2 separate regions of the Homo sapiens genome follow, and region 1 is linked to region 2. Evidence: promoter capture Hi-C in 16 types of primary human blood cells and fetal thymus (Javierre and others, 2016). All regions are on one chromosome and are shown on one strand. Each heading gives the region's core, a stretch centred on a gene start or on the middle of the fragment in contact. The rest is flanking DNA. Distances are from core to core; before and after follow the strand shown. Region 1 holds the start of USP12 (ubiquitin specific peptidase 12). Region 2 holds the start of SLC46A3 (solute carrier family 46 member 3).

Region 1 (4,603 bases), core at 1,662-4,161, 1.5 Mb before region 2:
AGAATAAAATTTCAACTCATCCTAAATGTTTTCACAGCTGCTGATTCTGAGAAGTGTTCTGTTTAAGTCCAGCCCATCTTCTCTCCACCATTCCACACACACACAGCCACATCATCCCTGCTTCACCCGGCATACCAGGAGGAGGCAGGAAGGACTTTGGAAAACTTTTATACTGAATGCAGAACTTGGTACTCCAGATCAAACTGCAGAAGTAAATGATAATCCTTCCCCTTCAAGGCCCTCACAATTGAGTAAGAGTTCAAAGAAAAATTTACTGCACAGTAAGTATGATAAGTGCTACTGAGATTACAAAAATGCCATGAAACTGTATGAAGGGGATGGAGGGTCGGGTTGGACAGGGGTAGGATTATTCAAGTAAGGCTCCCTGCTTAAGAGACAGGCACACACACTCGCCAGACAAGAAGGATACGGGGTGTGGCAGGGAGGAGCGTTCCAAGCCTAGCAAAACAGCACCTACAAAGCCAAAGAGGTATCTTTGCTTTTCAATTTTGTGATTCTCAGAGGACAAATGGCAATTTTCTTTAAAGAATAAGACTGCAAATTACTTTGAGATATTCAGCACTATTTGGGGGTACATTCGAATGTATTCAAATATGAATACAGACACACCCAATTTTAATAGTACCTTTGGAACGATCTCATTTGGCCAGGCATTTTCTGTATTTGCCAACAATACACACGCCCCACATGTAATTAATGTATCTGGATGGAAGCCCTAGAAAGAGCTTCTGATTTGACATCCTTGGGATCAGAATCCCACTTACTAAGTGTGTGACCCTGGCAAATCCCTGTGTCTCACTGTCCTAATCTGATTACAGCATACATTTATTGTTTACCTGAATACTGTTTGTGTCCATGAGCAAGAATGTAAACACCAAGAAAACAGGGGCTGCCCTGACCAATACTGCATCCCCAGTACTCAGCGTCGCCTCTAGCACTTAGTGGCTGCTAAGTGTATACTTGATATACAGTACTTGAGTGAATGAACAGTCGGTAAAGAGTATCACACCACTCCTGAAATCTAGTCTTTGACAATGAACTATGACCCATACAATGTGTGTAGCTCAGCCATGTGGCAAAATTGTCACTGTAAAAGACCTAATTATCGCATTCCTTTTGAAATTGACTAAGATAATAATTGGCGTATCTAAAAATAATTAGCCCAAACAATTCTCCAAAATCATTTTAATATAGTCCATTTAATACAAATGCTTTCCTAAAATGTAAACTGTGAGAAAGAACAATCATCCAGTTGGGAAATGGAGTCTTCAATGATTCATCCTTCAATATGATTTCTTTAATACTGTCGATTTTATGTCCACCTGATTTCAGTCATTTTTTGTACTGTTCCTCAGCGTGTAGTAGAGAATCTGCTTTTTAAGGCATCTTTCAGATCTGATTCACCACTCCTTAAAGAAAAATATATACAATGTACCACCCTTAGATGGAAAATTTCTTGGGGATCTCCTATATGAAATCAGTTGCATAAATAGGGCCAGTGAGGCATGAAACACAAGATTTCAGAAGTCTCTAATAACAACCACTAGGCCCACGTTGCAAAGAACAACTTTTTTCGGTGATGACTCATAAATTATGATCCCTACATATAAGCTCATGAGGAACTAATGAAACGAATTTGTCTCATCATGTGGAAAACTGTGGTCCTTCTGGCCACGCACAAAACACCAAGTTTTAAACGCGCCCACGTTTTGCTTAATTCGGGACTTCCAGCGGGCATTAGCACTTTTCCCTTACAGTCTATTTAAACGCCCTAGGAAAACAAATACCATCGCCTTGGCAGGCGGTCCCCGCACAGACAGACCTAGCTCCAGCCACATACAGATGTGTCTGGTGGGCTGAAGTAAACAAATGACAGGAAAGCTAATGCTGCTTTTCAAGATTAACGTGCATTCCCAGAGACAAGACTGCCACCTGGACACACGGCTGGAAACGGGAGAGCTCGTGCCTCTCAGAGGAGAAAATGGAGAGAATTTCAACAGTACTTATTTAAAGTTTCCACCTTCACACACGCCCCTTTCCCCCAGCGCGGGGTCGGGGACTCGGCCCAGCCAGCGGCGCGAGGAAATCTGCACTTGACTTCCGTCCTCTCCCAGGCGGGAATGAGCGCTGCCCGCCCCGGCCGAGACCCTTCCTTCCTGCCCGCCGACCCCCACCCCTCCCGGGGACCCCTCCCGCTCGGCGCGCGACCAGAAGGAAATGGAGCCCGCGCGGCTCCGCGCCCCCTCCCCGACGACCCCGGCCCGGGGCCGCGCTCTGGCTCGCGCGCGCCCACCCCTCACCCCGGCACAGGCCGGGCGCGCCTCGGCCCTCGTCCCCGCGTCCCGAGCGGACCCCAGCAGTTCAGCCGGGGACTCCCGGAGGCCGGTGCCCGCCCGACGCCGCGTCTGGCACGGTCGCCCACTCACCGCTACCCTCGCGCCGCCCTGGCCCACCAGGCGGCGCCCCCTCCCCAGCCGCCTGGGCCGCTCACCCCCGCGCTCCCCGCCTGCGCGCCGTCCAACCGCCCCCGCCCGGGCCGCCCGGGCCGCCCAGCCCGCCCGCCCGCCCCGGCGCTAGGCCCCGCGAGCGGCCACTGGGAGAGGCGGGTCCAGCGCCGCCCGCCCGCCCGAGAGGTCCCGGCAGCCCCGGCCGCCCGCTCGCCGCCACCTACCATGGTACAGATGGAGGCGAATTTGGAGACTGTCATTAGGATTTCCATCCGGCCAGCGCCATCTTCCACCCAATCACAGCGGCGGCGGCGGGCGGGGGAGGAGGGGAGCCGGGCCGCCCGCTCGCACCGCAGCCCGCGGGCGGACCCCGAGCCGCCGCGGACCCAACCACCGAGCCCGCTGGGCCGCCGCTGCCGTCGTCGCCGCCGGCGCTCAGGCACTCCCGGCCTCGGGCCCCAGCCCCCGCCTGCCGGCCGCCGGCCCGCCCCCGGCTCCGCCCCGGCGCAGGGCGCAGCCGCTGCCTCCGGGCCCGCGCCTGCACGCGAAGCCGCCCTCCGCCCACCCCGCCCAGCGCACAGGGGAGCGGGCTCCGCCGAGGCCCTAATGCCCGGCCTGCCAGGCAGCGGCGCGGCCAGGCGGCGCAGCCCCGCCCACCCCTCGGCAACCCCTCCGCGGCCCTTGTGCGCGAGCCGGGGAACTCCGGTCCGTCCCCACCCCGCGCGCGGCAGAGGGCAGGACCGAAGGCGGGCGCCACCTCCTGCCCGCGTCCCTGCGGTCCTAGAGCCGGGGACCCAGAGACCCCCGCGTAGGAAGGGGTGCGGCGGGGAGGCGCGGGGGTGGCGGCGGCGATCTGGGAGAACCCTGGAGGGGACCAGCTGCGACACCCACCGCGGGCGAGGGGACGGCGAGCCCCCGCTGCCTAAACAGAAAACGGAGGCGATGATCTGGGTAACTACGGGCGGAGTGGGAGGAAACCTGCTCTGCACAGTTAAGATAACCCGGGTATGCGTCCCAAGCACTTGGTTTGTTTCTTTTTACGTATATTGGATGAATCACCGGAGTCAAACACAACTTAGAAAAAGACAAAATAATTAAACAAAAATGAAGAGGCAAAGAACAAATTACACATGTTTAACTCTTTGAATTAAGAAGAAAGATAAGTAATGGGGGAAGGAGAGGAGCGAAACCTGTTGGCCTGTTGGCGATAAATTTATAATAGGCTTCTAAATATCTGCACATTGAGCTGCAAAATAGGGAGGATCTCAAGCCAGCAGTGATGATGATATTACCAGAGACAGGAAGCCCGCAAGCAAGAAAAATGCCCTGTGAGAAATCCTTAGGCAGTGCTGGCTACTGGCATGGGTAGTTCCTCTTTCTCCTTTTATAAAATTCATATTTGCACCCTGTTCTTCATGCCTGGCAGCTCAGCTTTATTTTTTCCTATTTGAGAAAGTAGTTCAAGTGAGTAGAATAACTTCATAAATTATTATGTTAGAAAGCTTGTGATATTTTCTGATTGAACTCGTGATGGGGTACTTTTCTGGGTTCCCCTAATTCAGTGGGGTTGAGGATCTGAATTCAGGCAGAGCTGTAAAATCAGAAATGCCTCACCTCAAGGGTTCAAAGCACTCAAAAACAAAAAGCATTCAAACAAAATTTAAGTGAAAAATAGACTTCTGGTACATGAATACTGTTTCCATAGTGATTCCATTATAAGCTTGCTTGGGGGGGGAATGCAGATTGAATATAGCCAAGCCCCATGGTAGCCGGACTGGATCTCCAAGCGCCTGCCTCCATGGAAGCCAAGAGCCCTGATACCCCAGCCAGGGGCTTTCCTCTCTATACTTGCAAGCATCACCCACCTGAATTCTTTCTTGCTCTTTTCTACCCCCTGTTTGGACAAGGGTTTCTACATCTTAGACCTCTAGGGCCTACCTGGGCCTTGTCCGAGTGTCACCATGCCCATCTGTGTGCCCGTCCTGATAAATAGCTGTGGTCATCCTGTCCTTCCCACTTGCTGTTCTATTCCAGCAAACAGGTCTGATGTGCCAGAATTTTAGACCTGCCTCCATCCCGCTAACCACCCATATGCCTCCTTGTCCATTAATCCGAACATGTCACAGGAACAAAAG
Region 2 (4,816 bases), core at 394-2,893:
GTGATGGGCCACTTTCTAGAGTCCCTGAAAGCTGGGACATGCAGAAACAGTAAAAGGATTGGGGAAGAATAGAGCAAGTGAGAGACAGAAACACCATGTTTCAGCCACCCCTGTCCACCAAGTAGCTCATTCCAGCCTGCCCTGCCCCAATTTTCAGACTTTTTTTTTTTTTTTTTTTTTTTTTAGGACAAAGCAAGGAGACAGCCACAGAAGAGATGACACTGTGGTGAAATTTTCCGAGAGAAAGGAGAAGAGCTAGTGTCACAGAGCAGGAGGGTGTTTTAAGAAGAAGAGGCAGATTTGAAAGGTGTCAGGAAACTTCAAATGAGGTGAGTTCCCAGTAAAGGCCATTAGGTTTGGGATTTAGGACTTTGATGGCCGCCCTAGAGAGACCAATGGATGATGAGTTCACGGTCCTCTTTAACTCAAAGCCCGGTATACATTCCCATTTTATTAAATACTATGGATATTGTAATTTCTTACCTCCTGGAATGCAAAAATTGGGCTGCTTTTGTTTTTTTCACACTCAGAAATATTGCTATCAGATGAAAAAGTGTAGTTGCCAGTTTCTTCCCATATTCTCCGATAAACATATTGCGTTGTCAGTGGACCGGTCAAAGTCATAGCAAATGCACTAAGGAAAATGGCAGGTTCTACAAATAAAATCTTCATATTGCCTGGGTAGGTAGCTGTATTCTATAAAAAGTGAAAACGGAGAAAGATCATCTGTCTCATCCCAGAGGCTAGATATTCAAAGATGGGTAAGTTTGAGCAATTTTGTGGAGTAAATGTTTAAACAAGCAAACTAGAGAACAGAAAAGGCAGTAAGCACTTTCTCAGAGAATAACTTTTACTTTGGAGTAGAGTACTCTGTAACAACCTGAGGCTGCCATGCTTTCCATTTTTATGAGTAGGACATTGTAGGACTCAAGCCGCCTTTGAGTCTTTGAAATCATAAACTGTCACCCATCTTGGTTAGCCAATGATCACAGTACAGTTCCCACACTGTATATTGCCAACTGATTTTTCGTAAGTTCAACAATGAGGTTCCTTTTGGGAAGCGACAGTTGCACAATTGTTATTGTTATTTTGCTGCGTATTAAAAACGGACAGGGAGGGGGCGTTTTAAAAAGCAGCTCCCAATCGAAAGGGCCTTATTTTTAACTCACCCCACGATTACAGTCTTCCTGCCAGGCTGGGTACAGGTCGGGCCGTGCCAGGGGCTGTCGCCTCGGATGCCCTGCGCTCGTGCGCGCCCGGGTTCAAGGGCAGCCTCTGGACTGGGGCAACAGAGGACGCGCCGGGGACAGTAACCTCGGACTACGCGGCCGGCGCTGGGGTGGGGAGAGTACTTTCCCGTCGAACTCGACCAAATTACGCTTGTCGGGGAGTCTCAAGCGTATTGTAAAGCAAACCTCGGCAAGCGCACTTCCGCGTCCCGAGTGACACCTGCAGGGTTCTCCGGCAGCCCTCGGCTTCCCCGCGGCCCTGCGGACCTCGGCCTCAGCGCGGCGCGGCGGGGCGCGGAGCAGCTGCTCCTTCTGCGCAGTGGACAATCGGCCAATCGGCGCCTCCGTCGGTCGGTCAGCGGCCCTGCCAGCGCTAGGCGATGACTCGGCCGCAGCCAGCTGAGCATCGCTGTCCGCCGAGGAGGCGGGGTCGGCTGCCGCGGCGCTGTCACTGTTCTACCCGGCTCTCCTGCGATTGGGCCCAGCGGTCGGTGCCCCAGCGGCGATTGGTCCACCCGGACGTCACTCTCCCCTGGAGAGTGGCTAGTGGATCGTGCACCCACCCTCGGAGGCCCGGAGTGGATCCCGCGCGACCGAGCAGCCACTCAGCACCGCTGTTGAGTGGTGGGCCGCGCCGCAGGCTCAACAGCTCTGGAGTTGCAAAGCATTTCTGAATCCGAATATCCTTTCTCATAGAAACACATAAAACAACAGTTGGAAAAGTAACATGTTTGGGCTGTAGCCCCCAGCAGGATCCCGGTCGGCCCGCAGAAGAGGGGAATGGGCGCAGGTGGAGGGCATAGGAAAGAGAGTGCTCAATGCAGAGTTAGCGGAGGGTTGGAATGTGGTCGCTGGCTTTTCCTGGGGAGGGGAGGGGGGACTTGGGCAAATCGTTAAATTTTCATGAACCTCCATGTCTTTATCTGCCACGTGGGGATGATAAGTCTTACAGGGTTGTCTAATTAAACACTCAGCATGTATACACAACACAGCCCCTGGACATAGGAGGAGTTGTCAGTGCTCTCCAACACACCCACCAGGAACAACTTGTAGTAAAAGAATTGAGCTACTACTTCTTGAAGCCAGGAGAAATGCATGCATGAGGAACCGTGGGGGCATCTCAGTAAGAAGGTGTTAGAATTTACTATGGGCTTGCGTTATGTGATTTTGGGAAGAGTTCAAGAAAGCAAGGCCTTACTCTGGATTGGTTGCTGTCAGGAAATGGCAGTAATTCTATGATTGGGTATCTTAATAAGTCTTATTTAGGAGTCAAGACTAGACAGAGGCTAAAGCCATGAATGATAAAGAAGCAACAGTCACACATATTTGTCATTTTTGTGGTTTAGACAGTGCCTAAATTTTGTCCGTGTTCAGACAAAATTATGACGTGGTCTTGTTTTTGTCTTGATCATGGTTACAGAATGCTCTTGTCTGACTTTGGTGTTCCGTGAAATTGTTTTCATTCGACAGAACACCATGGTCCAGAAAAGTTCTTAGCAACACCAAGGCCCAGCTGATAGTTCCAGCACCTGGATGTCAGAGCTGCTTTCTCTTCCTCAGCACTCCTTAAATGACAGTTGTGTCACTGAATGCAGAGTTAAACGTCTTAGGTTTGAGTCCTAACTGATACTTAGTAGCTGGTAACCTTGGACTTGCCACTTAATCTTACTTCCCAGCTTCTTCAAATCAGCATTTATGAAGCACTTGTTATGAGTTTCAAACAATGGAGCATGGATATTGGAAAGAAGATAAACAAACATGAGTAAGATACAGTTTGCAAGGAAGACATAATATTTTAAGTTGCAGTACTTTGTACTAAGTACTATATTATTCTAAACGGCACTTAGAAGATGTCCTTTTTTTTTTTTTTTTTTTTTGAGGTGGAGTCTCGCTCTGTCACCCAGGCCGGAGTGCAGTTGCAGGATCTTGGCTCACTGCAACCTCCGCCTCCCGGATTCAAGCAATGATCCTGCCTCAGCCTCCTGAGTAGCTGGGGTTACAAGTGTGCGCCACCATGGCCGGCTAATTTTTGTATTTTTAGTAGAGACAGGGTTTCACCATGTTGACCAGGATGATCTTGAACTCCTGACCTCAGGGGACCTGCCCACCTCAGCCTCCCAAAGTGCTGGGATTACAGGCATGCGCCACCGTGCCCTGCTGAAAATGTCCTTTCTTATGGGGCAAAAATAATTAATGTCCAATATACTTCCACGCTTTGCATTCCTACTCTTCCACACGAAGAAGAAAGCCAGGTCTTCTTAATGAGTTCTGCTGCTGATCGCTATGGTGACAACAGTCATTTTTTTTTTGTATTTTTTCAAAGAGAATTTTAATGTGAAAAATTAGCAGAGTTTCTGCCTTCACAATTAGAGTTTAACATGAGTCTTCCAGTGTTTTAAAAAGAACTGTAATATACGTAAAGCAAAATATTTTGGCATCATCTAGTGAAAACAGACAATGTGGTATTTTTTCAGCCATCTCATATAGTTAGGCCCTGAGTTATAATTTGAGATAAGTGATTCCTAAACAGAATGTGCTTTACAGAATGTGACCAATTATATTACTCCCAAGGACCTTGTTTCAGATTATATTAAAACCAGAGTTCACTGATCTCACATTTTAAAAAGAAAAAAAGTTTGTTAACTGTTTTAATCAACATAAGTAGTAACAAACATCCCTAATTGGATTCTAGAGAGGAAGCAGGGAGGGCCAGGCATGTGGCTCATGCCTGTAATCCCAGCACTTTGGGAGGCCGAGGCGGGTGGATCACGAGGTCAGGAGTTCAAGACCAGCCTAGCCAAAAGAGTGAAACCCTGTCTCTACTAAAAATACAAAAATTAGCCAGGCGTGGTGGCAGGTGCCTGTAATCCCAACTACTCAGGAGGCTGATGTAGACAATTGCTTAAACCCGGGAGGCGGAGGATGCAGTGAGCTGAGATCGCGCCACTGCACTCCAGCCTGGGCGACAGAGCGAGACTCCATCTCAAAAAAAAAAAAAAAAAAAAAGAGAGAGAGAGGAAGCAGGGAACAACTGAGCCAAAACAAAATTATCCCCTAAGGACTTGACTTTGGACTTCCACATAAATGTGACCTTGAAGACCTAGATACATATTTATCAGGTAAATATGTAATTATTTCGTAATTAGATCAAGATACATGAGCAGTTTTTGGCATTAATAATTACATTATTTTTAGGAAATCTTATCAAATATGGTCCCGGATCTCTTAATTTCCTATATTCAGTGATTTTAGTTAAAATTCCAAAGGATATTTTTTTTCTACAACATCTCCATTTCTGAGTATCATCATACCAAAAGAATTAGTATTCTCTCATTCAAGGCTTTAGATGTTCAATTATTCCCTGCCCTTCCATCCTCACCCACACAATAATTGCCCAGATAAATAATAACCTGAGGTTTCCAAGTATCTCACCGGGATTTTTATTCTTTATACCTTGCAGGACTAGTCCAAGATTTGAATACCCTGAACTTATTTGGCAAGAGCTAAGAGTACTCTTAAAATTACTACCTGGAAATTATATTATTTAGAATCTGCCAATTACCTAGATCCTCCTGAACAATTGTTTT

Evidence for each region. The method cuts DNA at HindIII sites, captures the fragments that hold promoters and counts their contacts. A CHiCAGO score of 5 or more calls a contact.
Region 1: the fragment with the promoter of USP12 here is called in contact with the fragment with the promoter of SLC46A3 in region 2 in 1 of 17 cell types (monocytes); the score reaches 6.3 in monocytes.

The regions. Positions count from the first base shown.
Region 1 is chr13:27,168,900-27,173,502 of GRCh38, forward strand. It overlaps USP12 (ubiquitin specific peptidase 12), which reads right to left and starts at 2,912. Exons shown (of 9, transcript NM_182488.4): 1 at 2,693-2,912. The coding sequence starts at 2,740. USP12-DT (USP12 divergent transcript) reads left to right here and starts at 3,360. Exons shown (of 2, transcript NR_046548.1): 1 at 3,360-3,473. USP12-AS1 (USP12 antisense RNA 1) reads left to right here. Exons shown (of 3, transcript NR_046547.1): 3 at 38-236. RefSeq lists enhancers at 1,889-1,998, 3,499-3,688 and silencers at 2,239-2,288, 2,319-2,388, 2,459-2,548, 2,609-2,658, 2,799-3,438. The HindIII fragment of the contact is 5,306 bases long and covers 1-3,968 here.
Region 2 is chr13:28,717,327-28,722,142 of GRCh38, forward strand. It overlaps SLC46A3 (solute carrier family 46 member 3), which reads right to left and starts at 1,644. Exons shown (of 6, transcript NM_181785.4): 1 at 1,170-1,644; 2 at 484-696. The coding sequence starts at 672. It also overlaps the pseudogene CYP51A1P2. The HindIII fragment of the contact is 12,183 bases long and covers 1-4,816 here.